7 separate regions of the Homo sapiens genome follow, and all the other regions are linked to region 6. Evidence: promoter capture Hi-C in 16 types of primary human blood cells and fetal thymus (Javierre and others, 2016). All regions are on one chromosome and are shown on one strand. The core of a region is centred on a gene start or on the middle of the fragment in contact, and the rest is flanking DNA. Distances in the headings are between cores, read along the strand shown. Region 1 overlaps CATSPERB (catsper channel auxiliary subunit beta). Region 2 overlaps LOC101928957 (a long non-coding RNA gene). Region 3 overlaps LOC101928957 (a long non-coding RNA gene). Region 4 overlaps CATSPERB (catsper channel auxiliary subunit beta). Region 5 overlaps CATSPERB (catsper channel auxiliary subunit beta). Region 6 holds the start of FBLN5 (fibulin 5). Region 7 overlaps PPP4R3A (protein phosphatase 4 regulatory subunit 3A).

Region 1 (3,762 bases), core at 971-3,470, 290 kb before region 6:
AGAAAGAAAAGCTTGGGATGAATATTCAATTCAAGGCCAGAGTAGAGGCTCTGGTAGTCATACAGGGAAAAAAATGAACCTCACTTCATGACATATACAAAATTAGAGATTTTACTTTGATCTGTATATAAAATCTAAAACAACCAATTTCCAGAAAACAGGAGAATATCTTCATAGCTTTGGGATAGGCAAAGAATTCTTAAATAGAATACAAGAAGTAAAAAGTGCTAACCATAAAAGGAAAGATTGGTCAATTGAGCTTTCAAAAATTAATAATTTTTGTTCAAAAGATACCATGAAGAAGATAAATAAGACAAGCCACTAATTACAAGAAGATATTTCCAAGACATATTTCTAACAAAAAATCATATCCGTAATACATTAAAATCTTATAGAAATCAGTAAGAAAAGTAACTCAAATCAAAACTTCATTCAAAAAAGACTTGAAAAGAATTTACAAAAAAGGATATAAAAATGAACACATGAAAATATACTTAACATTATTACTCATGCAAACTAAATCTTCAGTGAAATACCATTAGGCTGGGCACAGTGGCTCATGCCTGTAATCCCAACATTTTGGGAGGCCTACATGGGCAGATCATTTGAGGTCAGGAGTTTGAGACCAGCCTGGCCAACAAGGTGAAACCCTGTCTCTACTAACAATACAAAAAAAAAAAAAAAAATTAGCTGGGCATGGTGGCGGGTATCTGTAATCCCAGCTACTCGGGAGGCTGAGGCAGGAGAATCGCTTGAACCCGGGAGGCGGAGGTTGCAGTGAGCTGAGATCATACCACTGCACCCCAGTCTGAGCAACAGAGCAAGACTCTGTCTCAAAAAAAAAAAAAAAAAAAAAAAAAAAAAAAAAAAGAAATGCAGCAAGAGGCAAGAGGGAGCTTTCTGGAATACTGGAAACGTTCAACATTGTGCTCCTAACAATATTCACAATTACTTTCATTTATTTCACAATCATATAAAGTCTGATCACCAGAATCTTAGGTTGACACAGCTGCTGTCTCAACACATGATTCAGACATACAAACCACATGGATTAATCTTGATACTGACATAAGTTAAACAAAAGCTTTATTGACAGAATAGAGAATAAATAAACTGAGTGGTGAAGATCTGGAGAAATAGCATCAGGATTTTGTGGTCTGTCCTTATTCTCAAACAAGGAAGGACCAATAGAGGAGATTGTATAACTGTAAAACTGCTTTTGCTGGTGAACATCAAGGACAAAATATTGAGGCCTGCAAAACCATGCTTTTTGAAGTTATATCAGAAACTTCGTCATTTAAAATCGTATCAGAGACTGAAGATCAGAAGAAACTGGAGATCAGAAGAAATTTTAAACTATACAATAAAAAATGCTGTGTGTTAAAAACAACAAACAAAAAAACACAGCCTCTGTCTTGTCTTGGTGACAGTGTTTTTCTAATTTCTGTTAGACCTAATAAGATATCTCCAAGTCTACCTCAATCTCAAAAGTTACCCAATAATCTATAATAGTTCATTGTTGAGGCAATATTGAGAGAAGGAAGGTAAATCAACAAAATCCTGAAGGCTCTCGGTTATACCCTTCTAACAAGTAAGAAGGTGTATTGGTCCCTTTTCATGCTGCTGATCAAGACATGCCCGAGACTGGGCAATTTACAAAAGAAAGACATTTAATTAGACTTACAGTTCCACATGGCTGGGGAAGATCTCACAATCATGGCAGAGGGTGGAAGGCACTTCTTACATGGTTGCAGCAAGAGAGAAATGAGGAGGAAGCAAAAGCGGAAACCCCTTATAAACCCATAAGATCTTGTGAGACTTATTCACTATCATGAGAATAGCACAGGAAAAACCAGCCCCCATGATTTGATTACCTCCCCCTGGGTCCCTCCCACATGTGGGAATTCTGGGAGATACAACTCAAGTTGAGATTTGGGTTGGGACACAGCCAAACCATATAAGAAGGTGACAGTGGATGAGAAGATATCAAAAGGAAAAGTAAAGGGAAAAATCAAGCCCTCATAAGTGAAGCCAGGTTTACCACTTTCCAAGGCACTTTACTGAGTTGAGAAAATGGGTCCAAGTCCTATCTAAATGAGGTGAAGCAGATGGGTCTCAAGAATAATTCACCTACACTATGTTAGAGCAAATAGAAGATCTGACCAGTGCTGCACCTTTAATGATGAACTTGATGGAAACAGGAAGAGTGGGAAGAACAGAAGAAGAAGGAAGGAAAAGGGATAAAGAAGGAGGTGGGTGAGTAGAGGAGGGGAGTAGGGAAGATTAGAAAAAGAGGGATTATAGAGAGGAGGCAGAGCAAGATGGCTGAATAGAGCCTCCAGTGATTATCCACCCCTGCAGGAACATCAAATTGAACAATGATCCACACAAGAAAGCACCTTTATAAGAACCAGAAATCAGCTTGGGTACCAGCTTGGCCACAGTGGACAATTCACGAAGTGGGCTCCTGGGGTCTCTGATTCCAGGACTTGGCTCTTGTGTGGCATTTCTAAACCTGCCCTGGGCCAGAGTGGGGCCACTGCCCTGAAAGGAGAAATCCAGGACTGGCAGCATTCACCAGAAGCTGACTGAAGAGCCCTTGGACCTTGAGTGAATAGTGGCGGTAGCCAGGGGGTAATTGCCATGGGCTTGGGGTGGTGGTGGCCATGGAGAGAGACTGCTCTGCTTCAGGATAAAGGAGGGAAGAGTAAGAAAGACTTTGTCTTGCAGCTTGGGTGCCAGCTTAGCCGCAATAGAATAGAATACCACATAGACTCTAAGGGTCTCAACTTCCTTGGCTTCCAGATGGCATCTCTGGACCTAGCTGGGGCTGGGGGCAACTCACTGCCCTGAAGGGAAGATCATAACCCTGGCTGGACTCATCACCTGCTGATTATAGAGCTCTTGGGCCTAGAGTGAACATAGGTAGTAGCCAGGCAGTGGAAACTGTGGGCCTTGGGCAAGACCTGGTGCTGTGCTGGCTCTGGGTTTGACCCAGTGCAGTCCTAGTGGTGGTGGCTACAAGGGTGCTTGCATCACCCCTCCCCTAGCTCCAGGCAGCTTAGCACAGAGAAAGAGACACTATTTGTTTGGTGGAAAGTAAGGTAAGAGAACAAAAGTCTCTTCCTGGTAATACAGTCTCTTCCTGTAATACCTGGTAATACAGTCTCTTCCTGTAATACCTGGTAATACAGGTAATACAAGTTCTCCTGGATCTTACATAAGACCACCAAGGCAGTACTTCTACAAGTTGGCAATAGCCAAAGCATTACTGGGCTTGAGGTACCTCCTAATGCAGATTCAGCTGCAGTGAGCAAAGACTTAGATCACAACACTCAAGTCCCTTTGAATACTTGGAAAGCTTTCCCAAGAAAGACAGGTACGAACAAGCCCAGACTGTGAAAACTAAAATAAATACCAAACTCTTTAATCCCCAGACACCAATCAATGTCCAGAAGCATCAAGACCATCCAGGAGAACATGACCTCACCAAAGGAACAAAATAAGGCACCAGAGACCGATCTTGGAGAGACAGAGATATGTGACCTTTCAGACAGAGAATTCAGAATAGCTGTTGTGAGAAAACTCAAGGAAATTCAAGATAATATAGAGAAGGAATCCAGAATCCTGTCAGATAAATTTAGCAAAGAGATTGAAACAATTAAAAAGAATCAAGCAGAATTCTGGAGCTGAAAAATGCAATTGACATACTGAAGAATTATCAGAGTCTCTTAATAGCAGAATTGATAAAGCAGAATAAAG
Region 2 (3,564 bases), core at 219-2,718, 420 kb before region 6:
AGGAGCATATCAGCAGAAGTTTTTAAGAAAACACATAGCATTTAGATCTCATCCATTCCATCCATGGAAAATGTACCACTACTGCCATTACTTTGAGATTGGAATCAATTGCCCAAGCAAAGATACATTCTAGTTACTATTACTCTGTAACAAAGTCTCTCTAAACTTCGTGGTTTAAAGTAGGCATTTTATTTTGCTCCCAATTTTGTGAGTCAGGTATTGGGGAAGGGTTTTGCTGGGCAGTTCTCATTTGAGGCCTCTCATGTAGTTGCAGTCAGATGTCAGCTGTGCTGCTGTCATCCGAACGCTCAACTGGGCTGTGAATGTCTACGATGAAACACTGACATGGCTTGCAGGGAATACTGGCTGTTGGCTGGGAGCTCAGCCAGGCCTGTCTGCCAGAACAGGTATGCATGGCCTTTTTGAGAGGGGAGTTAGACTTCTACATGGTGGCTGCTTTCCCTACAGAAAGCATTCCAAGAGAACCAGGCAGAAGTTGCATGGTCTTTTCTGACCTAGCCTCCAATGTCACACAGCATCATTTATGCTTTATTTTATTGGGTACAAACAAGTCACCAAAGCCAGCCCAGATTTAACAGGAGGGAATAGAGACTTCACTTCTGATGGGACAAATGTGAAAGAACTTGATAACAAGTTTAAAAATCACCTTAGATGATGTTAACCCATAGAGTTATAAGGAAAGAGATTGCATTTACAGCCAATAATACAAAATAAATTTCAGAGAGGTTGAGGTAGGGTGTAGATTAAAAGAATCAGTTCATCTCAATTCCTTATTAATTTTTTTTTAAATGTAGACACGTGGTCTTGCTCTGTTGCCCAGGCTGGAGTGCAGTGGCATGATCATAGCTCAGGAGTCTTGAACTCCTGGGCTAAAGTGACCCTCTTGCCTCAGCCTCTCAGCTCAGCCTTCTGAGCAACGGGTACCACAGGCATGCACCACTACACCCGGCTAATTTGTGTGTGTGTGTGTGTGTGTGTGTGTGTGTGTGTGTGTGTGTAGAGACAGGGTTTCACCCTGTTGGCCAGGCTGGTCTTGAACTCCTGGATTCAAGCAATCCTCCCACCTCAGCCTCCCAAAGTGTTGGGATTACAGGTGTGAGCCACCATGCGCAGCCCCTTATCTCACTTCCTAACAGACCCCAGAAAGACACTCGTCTGGTTTGGAGGATAACTGGGATCCCCACACAATGTTCTGCTTTCTTCTCTCTGATGCAGACATATTTGCCCACATTGTGAGTGGCAGTCGGGGGTCATGGTTATATGCAGCCCTATACCTCATCCTTCTAAATTTGATGTTCAGGAGTTAAAAGCATTTCTCACCCCGTGACAATCTGAAAAATCCAGGCAGTGTATTTGAGTGGCCTGGCTTTTCTCTAAGTATTACCCTAACCACTGTGGCTGGGGGTAAGGTATAGAATGTTTGCATCATTTAAGGATAAGCATATTCTTCTCAAACACAGAGTTAGAAAGATTATTTGAAATGACAAAAATTAAGTCACAATCATACATTTGATTTGATTTTTTTTTTTTTTTTTTGAGACGGAGTGGAGTCTCGCTCGCTCTGTCACCCAGGCTGGAGTGCAGTGGTGCGATCTCGGCTCACTGCAAGCTCCGCCTCCCGGGTTCACACCATTCTCCTGCCTCAGCCTCCTGAGTAGCTGGGACTAGAGGTGCCCGCCACCACACCGGGATAATTTTTTGTATTTTTTAGTAGAGACGGCATTTCACCATGTTAGCCAGGATGGTCTCAATCTCCTGACCTTGCGATCCGCCCACCTCGGCCTCCCAAAGTGCTGGGATTACAGGCATGAGCCACCGCACCTGGACCATTTGATTTGATTTTAAAATAGCTAAATAAAAATTTTTAATATTTACATATTAACACCATCATCCTTGGCTTCCTATTCTACCTGTATTGGTTTTCAAAAGGTGGAAAAAGAAATTGAGAGTAATGAATGCATGAATGTGTTTGTACATTCAGAAAATACTTATAAGTTATTTCCTTTTTGCCAAAAGATAGATAGTCTGAAAAGATGATCTATCACAAAGAACACCCTGAAAATAAGAAGCCCTTTGTGATCTGGACATCAAAGATATTAATCTGGGTACATTTCAGGACTGGGGGGTCTGTAGGGTGCACACATAAAAGAAAATGCAGATTTAACATGACCTAAAAGGGATCTGTTCTACTCAGATGAGAGCAGGGAAGATGCACACGAGCTTTTACTCCTGACAGCCTTCTCAAAACTTAGGCAGATATGAATTTTATTTTATTATTATTTTTTGAGACAGAGTCTCACTCTGTTGCCCAGGCTGGAGTGCAGTGGTGTGCTCTCGGCTCACTGCAACCTCTGCCTCTCGGGTTCAAGCGATTCTTCTGCCTCAGCCTCCCAAGTAGCTGGGATTACAGGTGCACGTAATCACACCTGGCTAATTTTTGTATTTTTAGTAGAGACAGGGTTTCACCATGTTGGCCAGGCAGTCTGGTCTCGAACTCCTGACCTCAGGGAATCCGCCTGCCTCGGCTTCCCAAAGTGCTGGGATTACAGGTGTGAGCCATCACGCCTGGCCTTTATTTTAAAAGAGAAATCTCTATTTGTATTGCAAATTTTGATATTAGACACAACTCAGAATTCTTAAGAAAAAATCTAAGAAAGAACAAAGTCAAAGCTATGTTAGAAATGTTATTTTTCTCATTTTATAGAAGAGTTTCAGCAAACATCCAAATCAAAAGACACTGAGGGGCTGGATGTGGTGGCTCATGCCTATAATCCCAACACTTTGGGAGGCCAAGGTGGGACGATCACTTGAGCCCAGGAGTTTGAGACCAGACTAGGTAACGTAGAAATCATCTGTACAAAAAAAAATTTTTTTTAAAGACACCGAGAACATAAATGTCAACTCTCAGTGTCTAATTTGGCAGTCCCTCAGCATAGCTGTAAATGAATTTCAGTTTTCTCTTACTTATGGTTAATTTCTTATGAACTAAATCAATACTTATATATTTTATATTTAAAAGACTTACTGTGTCTAAGAGCTGAATTTAGCACTGTCTTGTTGGGTTGGACTGGGCCCTCCAAAATGCAGACATCAAGATGGAATTAAACATGCAAGGATTTTATTAAGGGAAATGCTTGTGTGAAAGGAAATAGGGAGAGAGCCAGGATGGCTGGGAGAGGCATCACTTGGTGATGCAAGTGTGAGCCTGAGTGAAGGAAAGAGAGAGAGAAGGCTGAGCACAGTCATCCTAGAGAGCATTGCAAGGAAGATTTGGCAAAGTTTTTTTTTTTTTTTTGAGATGGAGTCTCGCTCTGTCACCTATCAGGCATGATCTTGGCTCACTGCAACCTCCGCCTTCTGGGTTCAAGCAATTCTCCTGCCTCAGCCTCTCAGGTAGCTGGGATTACAGGCGCAAGACATCATGCCTGGCTAATTTTTGTATTTTTAGTAGAGACGGGGTTTAGCCATGTTGCCCAGGCTAGTCTTGAACTCCTGGCCTCAAGTGATGTGCCCACCTCGGCCTCCCAAGTGCTGGGATTACAG
Region 3 (3,596 bases), core at 1,023-3,522, 380 kb before region 6:
GTGGGGCCCTGTGACCTAATCACCTCCCAAAGGCTCCACCTCTTAATCCTATCACAGGGGATTATGTTTTAACATATGAATGGTGCGGGGGGTGGGGGTGAGGGACACAGACATTCAGACCATAGCACTAACTTGCCTTGGTTATATTTCAACTCCATATAAAAAACCAGATACTTCCAAAACTGAGGCTGTGGCATATAAAGGTGACAATTCCATCTTTGTAAACAAAAACAACTAATTTTTGAACGTGCTACTCATTTTAGATAGATCAATCTGTGTCAGTGGGGTAATATTTTTCTTTTAAATCCCAAAAGAAAAAACATGCCCTTTATTGTAATATAATATAATTAAAGCAGAACAGAATTCACCAGAAGGAATCAGTATCATTAGATACTTCACTGTAACAGTAGCTTCTGAGATTTATGAATGGCATGATGATAAATCAGAAAGTGAGCGCTGGCTCCCTCTCTTTTTTAAAGTACATTATTTTTATTTTTATTTATTTTTGAGACAGGATCTCACTCTGTCACGCAGGCTGGAGTGCAGTGGTGAGATTGTGGCTCACTGCAGTCTTGACCTCCCAGGCTCATGCAATCCTCCTGCCCTCGTCTCCCAAGTAGCTGGGACTGCAGGTGCACATCACCATACCCGGCTAATTTTTTAATTTTTTTGTAGAGACGGGATCTGGCTTTGTTGCCCAGGCCGTTCTTGAACTCCTGGCCTCAAATGCTCCTCTTGCCTGGGCCTCGCAAAGTACTGGGATTACAGACTTGAGCCGCTGCTAACTCTGGCTCTATTTTATTCAATCCTAGGAAACTTTCATGAGATATAGCTAATTACAATCACTTATGCAGAGACAGAATCTATCATAATAGATGCTTCTATAAATAGTTCTAAATTGAGGACCAAAGAGGGGAAAGAGCATTAAAGAGAGAAGGACCAACCACAGTCTGACCCAAAAATATTTTTCCAAGAGAAGAACCTAAGCCATGGTCAGATAAGTTATCTGATTATTTTTCTCCATTGTGATACTCATAATATCATTTAAAATTATTATCAGTTTCTTTGCTACAAGCCTAACTGCAAAATTATTTAGAATAGTTAAGTGATAAGCACATAGTATAGGAAGGGCTCATTAAATGTTTGTGGTATCTTCTTTACCTTTAAAGATAAATGCTTGAATTAAAAGGATAAGCATGAATTTGGCCTTCTTTATTTTTGCTGTAAATTTACAACATAGGAAAAGCATGTGAGTATGAATGATACTAAAGTATTTATAATAAAGCTTATTAATTTTCTGTTCTTTAATCTACATATGATCATGCATAATAATGAATATCTTTAGGTGTGGAGGGCAGAGAATAGAGAACCAACCTAGGAAATTTATAGAGGCTGTTAAAGAAGACATCAACACAATCAATGCATAGATAATATTATTCAAATACATCATCAAAGGAAACTTGTCTGAGTTTCAAAAAAAAAATCTAAAGATACACAAAGTGCTCCCTGGATTCTAAGTGACACCCACTAAAAATAATTTTAATTACAAGGGTAAAGGGAAAAAAAAACTATCAGTATCTGGCAAAAACATGAGTTATTCTCAAAGGAAAGAAATCATTGCTTTCTCATTTTTTCTAGGACAAGAAAAATATCTTTTTAAACCCATATTCTTAACAAAGCAGTTCAGATGAAATATCTTTTTGTTTTTGGTGACCACTATGAAAACAAGCAAATGAAGAGAAAACCTGAACTTGCTAATGGTGTAAACCTTTAACAGGTAGGGACTCTGGGCAAAGATTATTTTAACTAAACAAATCAACATAAAGGCCATTATTGCCAGCTAACATGTTCAGTAATTGCAAGCATCTTTAAGAAAATTCACATTGAACAAAACCAGGAGGGTTTTCTTTTGATTTTTGCTTTTTTTTTAATTTTTTTTTTTTCTGAGACCGAGTCTCACTGTGTCACCCAGGCTGGAGTGCAGTGGCGCGATCTTGGCTCACTGCAAGCTCCGCCTCCCAGGCTCATGCCATTTTCCTGCTTCAGCCTCCTGAGTAGCTGGGACTACAGGCACCCGCCACCACGCCTGGCTAATTTTTTGTATTTTTAGCAGAGACAGGGTTTGACCATGTTAGCCAGGATGGTCTCGATCTCCTGACCTCGTGATCCGCCCACCTCGGCCTCCCAAAGTGCTGGGATTACAGGCATGAGCCACCATGCCCAGCCTTTTTTTTTTTTTTTTTAAATTAGAAAACACCCACATATGGCCAGACATGGTGACTCGTACCTGTAATCCCAGCACTTTGGGAGGCCAAGGTGGGCAGATCACCTGAGGTCAGGAGTTCAAGACCAGCCTAACCAACATGGTGAAACCCTGTCTCTACAAAAATACAAAAATTAGCTTGGCGTGATGGTGGGTGCCTGTAATCCCAGCTATTTGGGAGGCTGAGGTGGGAGAATCCCTTGAACCTGGGAGGTGGAGGTTGCAGTGAGCCGAGATCGTGTCATTCCACTCCAACCTGGGCCACAGAGTGAGACTCCGTCTCAAAAAACAAAACAAAACAAAACAAACAACCTATATTCAAATGCAAAGGAAAGAGGGAAAGACTTTTAAAAAGAAAAAAAAAGACCAACATATAATAAATTACGAATGTCATATGGCAGCAAGCTCTTCATGTTACTTTCCTTTCCATTTAGACCCAGTTAATGTATCTATATTACGTATGTTTAATGTGTATGGACACACACACACACACACACACACACACACACCATAAAAGATTAAGAAGTATGCCTAAATTTTAAGTGGTATGATTTATATTTTTTTCATACTTTTATTTTCTAAATTTTCCAGTTATTACTCTTAGAAAGTTAGAAAGTTAGAGACCAAAAAAACCAATTCCCTTATAATTATATATATATAATGATTCCCCAAAGCCTCTTATTTTGAGTTCTTTCTTTGTATTCATTTTCAGGCAATATTTATTGAGTGTCTAGTCTGTGCCTGAAATGTATTTTATATGAACTTCTCTTATAACAAGATGTTCTTATGTCTTATTTATATTCTCATAGTCTCCCCTGAACCTGATTATAAACAGCATTTTTCTTTTTCTTGTTTTTTCTTTTTCAATCATTTGTTGAATATCACCCATGTGTTGGTCACTCTTTTAGGAAGGCATTAAAAAGAAATGTGACAGAAAGTTAGCACTGTCCCTATTGCAGGGGAGAGATAAGCATGTAAATACCAAAACCGGGCCAAGAAGCTTGATATAGAAATGTGCACCATGCTACCCCACTCAAAGGAGAGAAAGAACTAACTATCAGAGAGAACTGGGGAGAAACTTTTCTACAGAGGTGACATTTCAACTAGGCCTTGAATGACAGGTCAAATGATCTTAGATGAAAAGGGAGGAGGGGGCTGGTGAGAAGGAAGAGGCTGGCAGGGGAGGAGGAGGCTGGCAGAAGAGGGGGAGACTGGCAGGGAAGAGGGGGGTGGCAGGACAGAAGGTTGGCAGGGAGGAGGAAGCTGACAGGAGAGGAGGAGGTTGGTAGGGAGAAAGAGGCTGGCAGGAAGGAGGAGGCTTGCAGGGAGCAGG
Region 4 (3,775 bases), core at 463-2,962, 320 kb before region 6:
GTGTTTAGAAAGAGTTTTTAACAGTGTAGGGAAAATGATCATATTATAATGTCCAAATGAAGAAAGCAAGTGGAAAAATGTTAAAATGCATATAAAAAGGACTAATTGGCAGTTCATCAAAGTGTTAACAGTCATAATTTCAATTATCTTAATATTTTTCTGCCTTTTAGGAAATTTCTATACTGAGCATGTATTAACTTTATAACCAGGAAAACAATCTGTTTCTAAAATGTTAGCCTTGCATATCCACATGCAAAAAATTCAATCTAGACACAGATCTTACAATCATCACAAAAATTAACTCTAGGCCGGGTGCAGTGGCTCACACCGGTAATCCCAGCACTTTGGGAGCTGAGGCAGGCAGATTGGTTGAGCCTAGGAGTTCAAGACCAGCCTAGGCAACATGGTGAAACCCTATCTTTACTAAAAATACAAAAATTAACCAGGTATGGTGGCACATGCCTGTAATCCCAGCTACTCAGGAGGCTGAGGCAGTGGGATCACTTGAGCCTGTGAGGTGGAGGTTGCAGTGAGCTGAGATAGTGCCACTGCACTCCAGCGTGGGTGACAGAGCCAGACCCTGTCTCAAAAAAGAAAATAAAGAACTCTAAATGGGCCACAGACTTAAATATAAAATGTAAAACTATAAAACTCCTAAGAAGATAACATAGGAGAAAATCTAGATGACCTTGGGTATGGCAATTACTTTTTTCCCTCAATTAAAAAAATTATGTTAAAATATATGCTATGGTTTTAATGTATTCCTCAAAGTTCATGTGTTGAAAACACAATTTCCAATGCAAGAGTGTTGAGAGGTGGGACTTTTTTTTTTTTTTTTTTTTTTTTGAGACAGAGTCTTGCTCTGCCGCCAGCCTGGAGTGCAGTGGCGCCATCTCAGCTCACTGCAACCTGAGAGGTGGGACTTTTAAGGGGTGATTAGATCATGAGGCTTTGCCCTCACGAATGGATGAATGCCATTATTGCAGGAGTGGGTTAATTATTGTGTGAGTGGGTTCCTGATAAAAGAATGAATTCAGTCCCTTCCCTCCCCCTGTCTTTCTCTCTCTCTTTTGCACATGAGTGCTTCATATGCGTGCTCACATGTGCTCACCCTTCTGCCTTCCACCATGGGATGACGGAGCATGAGGCCCTCACCAGATGTGGGCCCCCCAGTCTTGGATTTCCCACCCTCCAGAACTGTAAGAAATAAATTTCTTTTCTTTATACATTACCCAGTCTGTGATATTCTATTATAGCAGCATGAAACAGACTAAGAAGATACACCTAACAAAATTTACCATCTTCATGCAATGACTGTTGAATACAACACCAAAGACACAATCCATGAAAGAGAAAATTGATAAATTTCTCTCCAGTTTTCCTAAACACAAGTAAAACCATTAAGTAATTTGGATAAAACAGTGGATTACATGAACCAATTTATGAACAAATAGTTTATAAACAAAATATACCAAAAATAGCTAACAAACATTTGATTAACATTTGGTCGACCTCATTTGTAATAGAAGAAATTGCAATTACAACAATGGGATACAATTTTTAACCAATTAGTAAAGATTTTTAAATGACAGTGTTAAGCAGTGAACACTGAATTTGTGTTAAAAATACATGCTATGGTTTGCATGTATCTCTCATTAGTAATTGGTACCTTACTAAAATTACAAACTTACACTCTGAAATATCCTGTCAAGAGAATTAGAAGACAAGCCACATACTAGGAGAAAATATTTTCAAAAGACATATAAAGGACTGTTATCCAAAATAAACTGTAGGGGAAGGGAGAAGAAACCTCTTTTTCCTCTATTCTCCTTGGTTCTGTAACTGAGACCCTGACAATTATACTGACAAATACAGATTAACAAGAGAAAAACAGGTGGAATTTATTAACATGTGCATTGTGCTTACATGCAGGAAAAACAGCAGTGATGAGTAGCTAAAAAGGGTAGTTAGAACATGGGGCTTCATAACAAATTTTTAGAGAAGTGACAAGACAAAGAAAAATGGGCTTAGGTTTTTAGGGTCAGCAAACTGTGGAAGGTAAATAAATGGAGGGAACTAATGGAAGATAAGGGTTGTTTTGAGAAGGTTTCTTCTGTAAATTCTTTGTGTCTCTGGGTTTATTAATAGTCTAGAGTTGCTTGTGCCTGTAATCCCAGCTACTCTGGAGGAAAGCCTGAGGCAGGAGGGTTGCTTGAGGCCAGGAGTTGGAGACCAGCTTGGATGCAACATAGTGAGATCTTGCCTCTAAAAACATTTAAAAATAAAATAAACTAGCTGGGTGTGGTGGCACATGCCTGTAGTCCCAGCTACATGGGAGGCTGAGGCAGGAGGATTGCTTGAGCCCAGGAGTTCGAGGCTGCAGTGAGCTATGATTGCACCACTGCACTCCAGCCTGGGTAACAGAGTGAGAATCTGTCTCTAAAAAGAAAAAAATATATATTTATATAGTCTAGAGTTATCTTCAGTGATTAAGAATCATTCTGCCCTTTCTGGTGGGAGGGGGCAAAGAGTTTTTCTTGTGCTTGTTTTTCCTTAATTTCCTTCAGCTCAAATAATCTTTATGCCAAAGTGGCATATTCTTTGTTTTTTTGTTTTGTTTTGTTTGGAAATTGGAGGTCTCACTATTTTGCCCAGACTAGGCTTGAACTTGAGATCCTCCTGCCTCAGACTCTGTAGTAGCTGCACCTACAGGCACACACCACTGCATGGTTCTGGGTTGGCATAATCTGATCTCCTACAATACAAAAATCTCTAATAATATAACAATAAGAAAGTGTACAACCTGATTTAAAAAATGGGCCAAAGACCTTAACAGATACCTCACCAAAGAATATATGCAGATGGCAGGTAACTATAGCAAAAAATGTTCTACATCATATACTGATATGGTTTGGCTCAATGTCCCCACCCAAATCTCATCTTGAATTGTAATCCCCACGTGTCAAGGGAGGGACCTGGTGGGAGGTGGTTGGATCATGGGGGCGGTTTTCCCCATGCTGTTCTCATAACAGTGAGGGAGTTCTCATGAGATCTGATGGTTTTAAAAATGGCAGTTTCCCCTGCACTGTCTCTTTCTCCTGCCGCCATGTAAGACGTGCCTTGCTTCCCCTTCATCTTCCACCATGGCCTCCCCAGCCATGCAGAACTGTGAGTCAATTAAACCTCTTTCCTTTATAAATTACCCAGTTTCAGGTATTTCTTTATAGCAGTGTGAAAACAGACTACTGCATATGTCATCAGGGAAATGCAAATTAACAATGAGATACCACCACATGACTATTAGAATGGCAGAAATCCAAAACACTGACAACCCAAATACTGGTGAGTATGTGAATAATAGGAACTCTCGTTCATTGTTGATAGAAATGGAAATGATACAGCCAGTCTGGAGGACAGTTCAGTCATTTTTTACAAAACTAAACATACTCTTAGCATACAATCAAGCAAAATGCCTTGGTATTTACCCAAATGAGTCGAAAACTTATATCTATACAAAACCTGCAAATAGGTGTTTACAGAAGCTTTATTTATAATTGCTAAAACTTGGAAGCAACCAAGATGTTCTTCAGTAGGTAAATGAATAAATAAACTGCGGGATACTCAGATGATGGAATATTATATGATTCAGCACTAAAAAAGAAATGAGCTATCAAGCCATGAAAAGACATGGAGGAAATTTAGATGCATATTACTAAGTACAAGAAGCCTCTGAAAAGGCTATATACGGTATGATTCAAACTATATGACATTCTGG
Region 5 (3,863 bases), core at 904-3,403, 280 kb before region 6:
ACAGCAAAGAGAGGTTTATTATAGAATCACTGCTGAACTTGCCAGACAGACTCCAAAGCCCATGCTTATGACTATCATGCCAAAAGTGTGGATGCCTAAGCCACACCCCAGTTCTATTCAACCATTATTTTAAATGGGATCAGAATATGACACCTCAGGCCAGGCGCAGTCTTCAGCTTAAAATTATCTTTATATAAAAGTGGCTTGTAATCTCAGCACTTTGGGAGGCCTATGTGAGAGGATTGCTTGAGCCTAGGCATTTGAGAACAGCCTGGTCAACAAAGTGAGACCCAGTTGCATTAAAAAAAAAAATTAAAAATTAGCCAGGCATGGTGGCATGAACCTGTAGTCCCAGCTACTAATCAGGCTGGGGCAGAGGATCGCTTGAGCCAGGAGTTAGAGTCTGTGGTGAACTATGATCACACCACTGCACTCCAGCCTGAGTGAGAGTGAGACCATCTCAAAAGAAAAAAAAAAGAGATATGAAACCTCAAAATATGCCACTTTTGGCCAGGCGCAGTGGCTTACGCCTATAATCCCAGCACTTTGGGGGGCCGAACTGGGTGGATCACTTGAGGCCAGGAGTTCGAGGCCAGCCTGGACAACATGGCAAAACCCTGTCTCTACTAAAAATACAAAAATTAGCTGGCGTGGTGGCACACACCTGTAATTTCTGTTACTTGGGAGGCTGAGGTGGGAGAATCTCTTGAAACCGGGAGGCAGAGGTTGCAGTGAGCCAAGATCGCTCCACTGCACTCCAGCCTGGGTGACAGGGACCCTGTCTCAAAACAAAAAAATGCCACTTTTATATAAGGATAATTTTAAGCTGAAGACTGTTGAGATTCAACAGATGCAGAGAAAAAACTTTGGAGCCTTTTGTGTCTGACTAAAAGCAGGAACTGCTGGGAAATGAGGCTGACAGAAATTCCTCCTTGGGGCAGATCTACTCCTAGAAGGAAGAATGTAAATAAAACCTGTCCCAAATCCCTTCTCCAGAGGAGTTTTATACCCCTGAAGGAGAAGGAAAGACCACTCATACCTAGATTTACAAACATTATCAAAAACTTTCATATCTCCTGGCCAGGCGCTGTGGCTCATGCCTGCAATTCCAGCACTTTGGGACGCCAACGTGGGTGGATCACTTGAGGTCAGGAGTTCAAGACCAGCCTGGCCAACATGACAAAACCCCATCTCTACTAAAAAATACAAAAATTGACCAGGTGTGGTGGTGGGCACCTGTAATCCCAGCTACTTGGGAGGCTATGGCAGGAGAATCGCTTGAGCCTGGGAGGCAGAGGTTGCAGTGCGCCGAGGTTGCAGTGAGCCAAGATTGCACCATTGCACTCCAGCCTGGGCAGCAGAGCGAGACCCCATCTCAAAAAAACCCCAAAAAACCAACCAACAAAAAAAAATCGTATCTCCTGTTTGCTGTCCTGAAAACCCATTTATCTTTTTTTCTTTTTTTTTAAAAGCAATTTGTTTTTCCATAAATGGTTTTCTCCCTTTCCCCTTCACCTATTAAGATGGTACCTAACCGTCCAGGCTCGGTGGCTCACGCTTGTAATCCCAGCACTTTGGGAGGCCGAGGCGGGCAGATCACGAGGTCAGGAGATCGAGACCACGGTGAAACCCTGCCTCTACTAAAAATACAAAAAATTAGCCAGGCATGGTGGCGGGCGCCTGTAGTCCCAGCTACTCGGAGAGGCTGAGGCAGGAGAATGGCGTGAACCCGGGAGGCGGAGCTTGCAGTGAGCCGAGATTGCACCACTGCACTCCAGCCTGGGCAACAGAGGGAGACTCTGTCTCAAAAACAACAACAACAACAACAACAACAACAACAAAAAGATGGTACCTAACTTCCAAATTTTAACCTCATCACTGAGTTTCCCATGTGTGCACACTGCACATGTAAATAAACTGTTTTCTCCTATTAATATTTTTTTTTCAGTTTAATTTGCAAGGCTCCACTCATTGAACATACGAAGATGGAGGAAAGAGCTTTTTCCTTCCCTACAATCTTGACGATAGGGGCCGAACTTATGGTTTTATTTGTTTGTTTGTTTTTTTGTTTGCTTGCTTGTTTGTTTTCTCAGACTGGATTTTGCTCTGTCACCTCACCTGGTGTGCTGGAGTGCAGTAGTGCCTCACTGTGGTTTTGAAATCCTGGCCTCAAGCCTCCTGCCTCAGCCTCCCGAGTTGCTGGGATTACAGGCATGAGCCATCACAACTGTCAGTTTATGTGTTTTTTAATGGCTCTAAGAAGAATTCTAATTCACAGGTAGGGTTAAGGACGTTTGGAAGAAAAAAATATAGATCTGTGGCAATTACTTCCATTTTTTTTTCTGTTTAATTAACCATTTTATGGAATCTTAAATTTGTATAGAAAAATCCCAGCTTATATTCTTTAGAGAATTAGCAAGGGAGAATCACTATGCATACAGCATCACGTTTTCCATTTTCATCAAAATGAATGACGACCAGGTGAGAAATCTCTAAAGTGTCAAGCTATATTATTGATTTTAAATAATTTTGCTATAGCCAATTTTATAGGTTCTATTGCCAGACATAACAAGAACTTGAAAATAACTTTTGCTAAGGTAAATTTTTATTGTTGTCATGTCAAGATAAATTCCCTCTGGGATATAAGGCCTACCTTGTTATAGAAGAGGTAAACTCCAGTACCACGCTCTTGGTCAACAAGAAATGTTAGCACAGTTGGAAAAATTTTTATTCCTTTAAAAATGTGAGGTAAGCAGGGTACCCATTCAAGAAATGGTTCCTGACTATAAAAACAAGAGCTTGACTATAAAAAAAAGAAGGGAAAAATTAATGCTGTTTTTGAAATATAAGTTCTAATTCTCTTAGTGAAACTAGCCCACTTGTTCATAGAAGTAATATTTACAGTTTTTTGAACAAACATAGAAATTAACCTTCCCTCCCTGGTCTTAAAACCCACTGGTCTTTAAACTCCCTGGTCTTAAAACGTTTTTCTCATCTGAATTCCTTCTTTAGGAAATCGACCCTTAGGCAAGGAACTGAAACTCAACGGATCACTGCACCCAGATAATGAGAAGTCAGACTCCTCATCCATCATGATTGCTTCTTCACCCATCTCTAATTCCTGTTTTCCTACCTTCCTTTCTGTGTAAATCCCCCAATTTTACTCAGAGAGACAGGTTTGAGATTTTTATCTACCATTCTCCTTGGCTGCAGCACCTGATTAAAGCCTTCTCCCTGGCAATACTTGTTGACTCAGTGACTGGCAGTCTATACAGCAAGCAGCAGGACCTAGACTGAATCCCTGGTGTTTTAGTAACAGTAGGAAAATAAATTAACAACCATAGTGTTGCTCTGACTGATCACAATTGTTTTTTAAAAAATCCTTAATGTGGCTGGGTTTGGTGCTCACGCCTGTAACCCCAGCACTTTGGGAGGCCAAGGGGGGTGGGTCACGAGGTCAAGAGATCAAGACCATCCTGGCCAACATGGTGAAACCCTGTCTCTACTAAAAATACAAAAATTAGCTGGACATGGTGGAGCGTGCCTGTAGTCCCAGCTACTTGGTATGCTGAGGCAGGAGAATTGCTTGAACCTGGGAGGCAGAGGTTGCAGTGAGCCAAGATCATGCCACTGCGCTCCAGCCTGGAGACAGAGCGAGACTCTGTCTCAAAAAAAAAAAAAATCCTTAATGTCTGTGCCTCTCTTCTGAGGGATATGAGCCCAGAAAACATTGCAATGCATGTCTTTCTGGTACGAATTGTTTTTCTAGAACCATTGCTTAGGTCCTGATTAACATAATTAGGTAAGTACTAATAAACCCAAGTAGAAACACCACTGGGAGCAAAGAGTGATTGTGAAGCCTT
Region 6 (3,607 bases), core at 1,003-3,502:
CCTATTGGGTGCCATAACAACCAGGCTGTGGGTAGCAACAAGACTTCCTGGAGAAGGTGATCTTGAAGGCTTCTTCAACAGAGCAGTGAACCTGGGGACATGGCTGAATTCTGGGGCCCGTTACTACAAACGTGCACCACAACAATATAATCCCTCCCTTTCAGGACACATGGCCCATCTGCATCAGCAACCCTGGGTATTAGAGGACCTGGAGTTAAGCTGACATCCAGAGGGAATAGGGCCCTGATACGATCTTAGGAGATGCGAGGCCATTTCCTTTATCGAGTCCCCAATCCAAAAAATAAGGACGCTGAGAGTCCACAAGTTTTCATGTAAGTGCCTGGGTGAGCCAGATTCTAGAACGCTGGAGACAGCTCTGACCTTATAAAGTGCAGAGCCAAATCCCAGGGCTTTTTGATATTTGCCATGGCCAGATTTATATCTGGAAGGAATGAAAGAACAATAACAAATTTATTTTCCAGTCTGTGTATTATGAATTTCAATGTTTTCCTGTTTCTTCACATGAAGTTTCCTTTCAGTTGGTTATAAAACCCTGTCTCGTTTATGTTGGAGAAAGAACAGGCTGACTGCAACACAGTGGACTTCAAGAGCTAGTTGAAAAGGCATGCTAACCCCATCTTTCCCCCTACTCCCCGCAGCCCCATTCCCTTTGGCTAGAGGCAGCCCTGGGACAGGTCTTGCCTCAAGCCCAGCCTCTTGGAAGAGCCACAGCTGAGTCCTGGGGGCCAAACAGGTTCCAGGCTAATAGGATTTTCCTAAAATGAAAGAATACCCAAGCACTACTGCCTCACAGCATCACGAATAGCTGCACCTTGTGATTAAAAAAAAAAAACCCTGGAAACTCCAAAAATGAACTAACTATAAGAATAGCTGGGGGGAGGCAGGTTGGTGCTCATAACCGGTCCTGGGAACTTTCTAAAGCAGGTGGGTTCGCCGGTGTTGTGCCTCAGCCTGAAACACAAGGAAAGCCGGAGAGACCAACCAAATACCAGGACTGCCTGTCACAGAAGTGCTGGTCCCCAATCCAGGATGACATTGTTACAGCTTAGTTTTCAGCACACACACACACACACACACACCCCACAGACACATACATACGCACACAAGGTTAATTTGTTCAAAGCAGTATGTTTTCAAGAGCTCGCTGAATAAAGACTGTGGGTGTCATTTAGGTAAAGTTCTCCAAGACTTAAGGATTACTTAACTGTAATTGCAATTTCCTTAAAGAATAGCAAAACATTTGCTTACATGTATCTCTGTCTGCAGTTCCCACTTCTCATTGGCTTGAAACTTCTGTGAGAATCCCACACAAACATAGAGCAAATCCAGCCCCGCGGTGTTCAGCTAGCCTGTCTGCTTGTCTATCAGCCGATGCGGCGCAGTAATTGCTAGTGAACTAGTAATTGGCCTCCCGAAATTTAAAAAATACATACAAAAATCCCTTAAAACGACAAAGTTGCTGCCCTTTCCAGAAAAGAAAGAGGAATGAAGCGCTGAGAATTTCGCAGCCCTCTCTGATGCTGGCTTTTGAAACTGTATTAGAAAATACCCACTCCCAAAAGAACGCTTCAAGATGGAAATTACAGAGGCGCAGCTTTTTATAATTAACAATATCATTGCATCACTAGCTCATGCCTTTTCCAATATCCTGACACCGCCTGAATCGCAGCCATAACCATTTTCCACCCATCGGATTTTTAGCAAGGCTTCCAGACCCTGGAGAAAGAAAAGTCCAGCGCCGAGAACCCACCTTTTTATTCCTGGCATGTCCAAGACGCGCGAGGAGGAGATGCGAAGGCGAGAAGAAAGCTCGCGGGCGGGACCCCCGGAGGAGCTCGGGCACGTCGGCCTCCTCTGGGCCCTCGGGGCTCGCGGGTGTTTTATTCCAGAGGGGCCGAGCGAGTCGTGGAGAGGACACGGGGAGAGCGCCGGGGTCCTCCCAGCCACTGCAGAGCCCTCAGCGCAAGCACCTGGTTTTGCTTAGCCCTCTTCAGTAATTCAGCATTAAACCAATTGGAGGAGGAATGTTAAAAATGAACACTTCATTTTCTAAGTATGTTAAACAATGCAAATGGGGCCTCAGTCTGGACACAGCTGGTTCAGATTACAGCGCTCACCAACTGGCTAGACTCCTCACAACAATCTTGGGGCGTCTGCCAGGGCCCAGTGCTCGGCGCTGGGAGGAGAGCCCTTCCCCGGCCGCGCTCGGCTGCGAGCGCCCGGGCAGAAGGCGAGGGGCGGGCGCGCGCAGGGGTGCGGGGGCTGGGAGGGCCCGGGCCCCTTGACCTTCCCACCCAGGGGCGGGGCGGGGCTGGCAGCGCGGCCCGGCGGGGAGGGGCGTGCACGCCCGCGCTGCGTGGCAAGGGGACCCGCGAGAACGTTGTCGCCTCCGGAAGGAAAGGGACTTGAACTCACGACCCACGCAGCTCCAGGGACTAGAAACTCACGATCGATTGGGAAACCAGAACCTACGAAGCAGAGGCTTGGGGCGAGCGACGGGAGAGTCGCGATCTTCCCGAAGAAGGGGTGGGGAGCAGCGGGGTGGGGTGGGGGGGAAGAGGATGGAATCCCGCTGGTGCGAATTCCAGACTTCAGCTTGTGCAATGCAAGTCTTAGGACGCTTTTCTCTCCCCGCCCTCATTCCCCGATTCTCCCTGGCATTTTCTCGCTTTCCTGGAAAAGTGTCCCCTGGCTCGAAAGTGATTTTAACAAGTTAAACGGTGATTTGAAGAAGGGACAGTCTGGAAAAGCAGAATGGTGGAGACAGCACATAAGACATGCTGAGTCCTTTGCATTCATTCTAGTGGAGGCTTCAACCTGTTTCTTTTTCCTGTTTGTTTGTTTGTTTGTTTGTTTGTTTTTAAGCCATTGGAGTACTTTTGTCAATGAAATCTTACAGAAGGCACTCACTCTATAAAACGCCAGTGGATGGACTGTGGCCTATCCCATCTGCTTCCACCTGCATCTTCCTACCTGCAGCCGAAAAGCCCTGATCCAGGTCCCCTGTCCTCACCACCACTCTAAGCAGTAGGAATGATCATCTCCATGTTATTAGAGGTGAAGATAAGAGAGGTTAGGTAACCTCCCCATAGTCACGCAGCTATTCATTGGTACAGCTGAGCCTCTGGAGTCTACATATTTAGCCTTCCCTAAGGCATTTTTGGGGGTAAGTAAATGGAATTCTACCCAAAGGAGAATAACAGAATGTGGATAGTTGTTGAAGCTGTGTCCATTATACTAGTCTAATCTATTTCCTTTTACGTGTTTGAAATTTCCTGTAAAACACTTTTTTAAATACCTTATGTTTATAAGGTTGTTCATCCCCCCATTGTTTGTAAAAGCAAAAGATTATAAACACCTTTAAGGTCGATCAGCAAGGCACCAATAGGGTTAAATAAAGTAAGGGGCTTCCAAAGGGACTATTGTGCAACCAATTAAAACCTAGACACTTAAGAGTCCACATCAAACGACTCCATTTATATAAAATTCAAAGTCAGATAGTGACTGGGAGGCAGCCCAGCCCCTTCTGGGTGCTGGTAATAATCTAATGATTGATCTGGATGCTGGTTATGTAGGGGTGTGTACA
Region 7 (3,664 bases), core at 1,010-3,509, 450 kb before region 6:
GTAATCCCAGCACTTTGGGAGGTCGAGATGGGAGGATTGCTTGAGGCTAGCCTGGTCTCATATATAGGATGGTGAGACCCCATACTATATATTTTTAATATAAAATTTAAAAAAGGTATAAAAATCTCCAACTATCTTTGTAGTCTTTCATTATTTTAATTACTAGAATAAAAATTGCATTCTATTATTCTCCACGGAAATCATAAAGTATATAAAGTACATTATGGATCAATATTACTTTTTTTTTTTTTTTTGAGACGGAGTTTCACTCTTGTTGCCCAGGCTGGAATGTAATGGTGCAATCCCGGCTCACCACAACCTCTGCCTCCTGGGTTCAAGTGATTGTCCTGCCTCAGCCTCCTGAGTAGCTGGGCATGTGCCACCATGCCTGGCTAATTTTGTATTTTTAGTAGAGACAGGGTTTCTCCATGTTGGTCAGGCTGGTCTTGAATTCCCAACCTCAGATAATCTGCCCGCCTCGGCAGGCAGGTGGGTCACTTGAGGTCAGCAGTTCGAGACCAGCCTGGCCAACATGGTGAAACCCCGTCTCTACTAAAGACACACAAAAACCTACTTTGAAATACAACTCATATTCTCAGACACAATCTATCTCCATAAAATTACAAAAGTAAAATAGAGTGAAAGAATTGCATTACTTTAACAAATTATATTTCAGAAGATGCAAGATCTCTAATGGCATAGGACCCAACTAGGAAACGCTTCTCTAAAAGTTAAAACTGCACAAAAGTACAACCTATATAAAAGAAAAAATTGGGCATCACAATTAAAAATTTGTTTGTGCTGCAAACAATACCATCAAGTAAAAAGAAAGCCCACAGAATGAGAGAAAAGATTTGGAAAGCATATATCTGGTAAAGGACTTGTATCCGGAATATATAAAGGACTCTTACAACTCAATATTAAAATGTGGGCAATGAATTTGAATAGAAATTTATCCAAAACGGATATACAAAAAACTAGTAAGCATATGAGAAGATGCTCAGCATTAGTCATTAAGGAAATGCAAATCAAACCCACAAATAAGGGCCAGGCACGGTGGCTCACGCCTATAATACCAGCACTTTGGGAGGCTGAGGCAGGTGGATCACTTGAGGTCAGGAGTTCGAGACCAGCCTGGCCAAAATGGTGAAACCCCATCTCTACTAAAGACACACAAAAAATTAGCTGGGCATCGTTGTGCATGTCTTTAAACCCAGCTACTCAGGAGGCTGAGGCAGGAGAATCACTTTAACCTGGGAGGTGGAGGTTGCAGTGAGCCAGGATTGCACCACTGCACCCCAGCCTGGACGACAGAGACTCTGTCTCAAATGAAAACAAAAACCAAAACCACAAATGAGATACCATTTAGTACCCACTAGAATGTCTACAATCAAAGACAAGACAATAACAAGCGGTGACAAGGCTGTAGAGAAATGGGAAGCTTCATACATTGCTTCTGGGAATATAAAATGAGGCATCAATTTTGGAAAAGTTTGGCAGTTCCTTCAAAAGTTAAGCAGTTACCTTGCAATTTCCCTTCTCGGTATATATCCAAGAGAAATGAATACATGCCCAGACAAAAACTTGTACATTTATATTCACAGCAAGGTTATTTACAACAGCAAAAAATGAACAGATAAATTCAATGTGGCATATACTCAGCTACACAGAGTAATGAAAACCTAACACATTACAATATGTATAAACCTTGAAAACATATGAAATTAAAGAAGCCCATCATAAAATACCACATGTCCAGATACATAATGTGTGTGTGTGTGTGTGTGTGTATGTTTTTTTTTAGACAGTCTCTCTGTCGCCCAGGCTGGAGTGCAGTGGCGTGATCTGAGCTCACTGCAGCCTCTGCCTCCTGGGTTCAAGCAATTCTCCTGCCTCAGCCACCTGAGTAGCTGGGACTACAGGCACATTCCCAGTCCAGATAGGTAAATTTAGAGACAGAAAATAGATTAGTGGTTGTTTAGGGCTGGGAGGAAGTGAAAGTGGGTAGTGATTGCTAATGGGCACATGATTTTTTTCAGAGGAGACAAAATGTTCTAAAATTAGATTGTGGTGATGGTTGCAAACCTGTGATTATACTAAAAAACAATGAATTGTACATTTTGAATTGGTGAATTATATAGTATGTAAATACTGTTAAAAAAAAAACAAAAAACAGGTGGAGTGCAGCCTAGGCAATATAGTGAGACCTTGTCTCTATAAAAAAATTTTAAAAATTAGCCAAGTGTGGCAGCGCACGCCTGTAGTCCTAGCTGCTCAGGAGGCAGAGGTGGGAGGATTGCCTAAGCCTTGGAAATGCAGGTTGCAGTGAGCCAAGATCATGCCACTGCACTCCAGCCTAGGCAACAGAGCAAGACCCAGTCTCAAAAAAACAAAACAAAACACACACACACACACAAAAAGGTAAACTGTAAAGTATAAATATTCATACAATGGATACCACGAACAATGTTAATATATGAATCAAAGAGTAAACACAACAGATATTTTACAAACCTGAGTAAAAGACAGCTGAGACAAAGGTATAAACCATAGAATTCAATTTACACAAAGCTCACAAAGTGGCAAAATTAACCTATCATTAGGCTAGCAGTTTTCTCTGGGTAGGATAGTGACTGGGGAGGAACCTGAAGTAGGCTTCCAGAGTAGTGGTTATGTTGTTTTTTCAATGGTGTGCTGGTTATTTTTTGAAAATTCATCAAATTGAATACTTATGATTTGTGTACCTTTTTGATGTATTATACTGCAATTCAAAAGTTTTTTTAAGTTTAAGAAGTCAGAAACACATAGCACAGGGGATTGAGGTTGTTATTCAAGTTGTGCTTTCAAGAAACACACGCCTGATTTTTACAGTCACTAAAACAAAAAACACGGCAGTGCAGTGGTATGACATTGTCAGCCACCTAATCCCTAATAGCAATTATTTCTCAAGTACCAGTCTCTTTTACATTTTCTTCAAAACTCTCTTAGTAGTGTTTACAGGATCAGGATAATAAGAAAGAGGGAAAAAAAGGTTTGACGTACTCCCTTCCAAAGTTCTGGCTAAAACAGGACACACTAGAAGCTTCTAGTGTTGGGAAATGTTTTTCTGGTCTATTCAGGATATTAGAGGGAAGTATCCCCTGAAACTCTCTTTTCAGCCATATCACAGTTTTGGTCTAGGAAGTCCAGCTCTCATCCCCAATACCATATTCCCAAAGAGATAAGTAGGCTATAGAGGCTAGAACACCGGAAAGTCTTTCAACTTGAGGGCTCAGTAAGACAATAAATAAAAGACACAATACTAGGTTTATTCCTAGTCTATTGGGTTTCCCTCCATCACCTAATAGGTTTTATTGAGCCAAGTTATAAACACTAAACCAATCAACTATAACAGATCCAGTTCAGTGTTAATATCAATTAACACAATCCTTACCCCCAACAAGTTTGTTTGTATTTTGTTGCTATAGCTACAGTATTAGGCACAGTAATTCTATCCTACTAAGGTATGGGTATGGATGGGGATATAGAGCTCAACTTTAGGAGAGGAATTTATTAAATAACATGGTAGCAGAGATGACAGGCGAGAAATGATGATCCTTAGCAGGAGACCTCAGCAACATTAAGAGGGAGGCAGAGAAGGTTCTAACTAAGAGCAACATGTTTC

Evidence for each region. Contacts are between HindIII fragments. The CHiCAGO score rates a contact against its expected background, and 5 or more counts as called.
Region 1: a fragment that was not itself captured here is called in contact with the fragment with the promoter of FBLN5 in region 6 in 8 of 17 cell types (M2 macrophages, M1 macrophages, M0 macrophages and 5 more); the score reaches 13.6 in M2 macrophages.
Region 2: a fragment that was not itself captured here is called in contact with the fragment with the promoter of FBLN5 in region 6 in 2 of 17 cell types (M1 macrophages and megakaryocytes); the score reaches 5.7 in M1 macrophages.
Region 3: a fragment that was not itself captured here is called in contact with the fragment with the promoter of FBLN5 in region 6 in 3 of 17 cell types (M2 macrophages, megakaryocytes and M1 macrophages); the score reaches 7.6 in M2 macrophages.
Region 4: a fragment that was not itself captured here is called in contact with the fragment with the promoter of FBLN5 in region 6 in 5 of 17 cell types (M1 macrophages, M2 macrophages, megakaryocytes and 2 more); the score reaches 9.6 in M1 macrophages.
Region 5: a fragment that was not itself captured here is called in contact with the fragment with the promoter of FBLN5 in region 6 in 3 of 17 cell types (M2 macrophages, M0 macrophages and M1 macrophages); the score reaches 7.5 in M2 macrophages.
Region 7: a contact is called between a fragment that was not itself captured here and the fragment with the promoter of FBLN5 in region 6, in 4 of 17 cell types (megakaryocytes, endothelial precursors, M1 macrophages and 1 more). The highest score is 5.8, in megakaryocytes.

The regions. Positions count from the first base shown.
Region 1 is chr14:91,651,836-91,655,597 of GRCh38, forward strand. All of the region lies in intron 15 of CATSPERB (catsper channel auxiliary subunit beta), which reads right to left. Among named protein-coding and RNA genes, the nearest start is that of CATSPERB, 78 kb to the right of the region's middle. The HindIII fragment of the contact is 2,277 bases long and covers 1,083-3,359 here.
Region 2 is chr14:91,527,403-91,530,966 of GRCh38, forward strand. All of the region lies in intron 2 of LOC101928957 (a long non-coding RNA gene), which reads right to left. Among named protein-coding and RNA genes, the nearest start is that of PPP4R3A, 19 kb to the left of the region's middle. The HindIII fragment of the contact is 6,884 bases long and covers 1-3,564 here.
Region 3 is chr14:91,570,201-91,573,796 of GRCh38, forward strand. The region is part of intron 2 of LOC101928957 (a long non-coding RNA gene); the gene reads right to left. Among named protein-coding and RNA genes, the nearest start is that of PPP4R3A, 62 kb to the left of the region's middle. RefSeq lists an enhancer at 1-190. The HindIII fragment of the contact is 1,978 bases long and covers 1,284-3,261 here.
Region 4 is chr14:91,625,538-91,629,312 of GRCh38, forward strand. The region is part of intron 17 of CATSPERB (catsper channel auxiliary subunit beta); the gene reads right to left. Among named protein-coding and RNA genes, the nearest start is that of CATSPERB, 100 kb to the right of the region's middle. The HindIII fragment of the contact is 3,656 bases long and covers 1-3,540 here.
Region 5 is chr14:91,670,214-91,674,076 of GRCh38, forward strand. CATSPERB (catsper channel auxiliary subunit beta) reads right to left here. Exons shown (of 27, transcript NM_024764.4): 13 at 2,654-2,803. Among named protein-coding and RNA genes, the nearest start is that of CATSPERB, 60 kb to the right of the region's middle. The HindIII fragment of the contact is 5,418 bases long and covers 1-3,863 here.
Region 6 is chr14:91,945,442-91,949,048 of GRCh38, forward strand. It overlaps FBLN5 (fibulin 5), which reads right to left and starts at 2,253. Exons shown (of 11, transcript NM_006329.4): 1 at 1,772-2,253. The coding sequence starts at 1,788. The HindIII fragment of the contact is 8,571 bases long and covers 1-3,607 here.
Region 7 is chr14:91,493,536-91,497,199 of GRCh38, forward strand. The region is part of intron 1 of PPP4R3A (protein phosphatase 4 regulatory subunit 3A); the gene reads right to left. Among named protein-coding and RNA genes, the nearest start is that of PPP4R3A, 15 kb to the right of the region's middle. RefSeq lists enhancers at 1,324-1,473, 1,955-2,164. The HindIII fragment of the contact is 1,641 bases long and covers 1,440-3,080 here.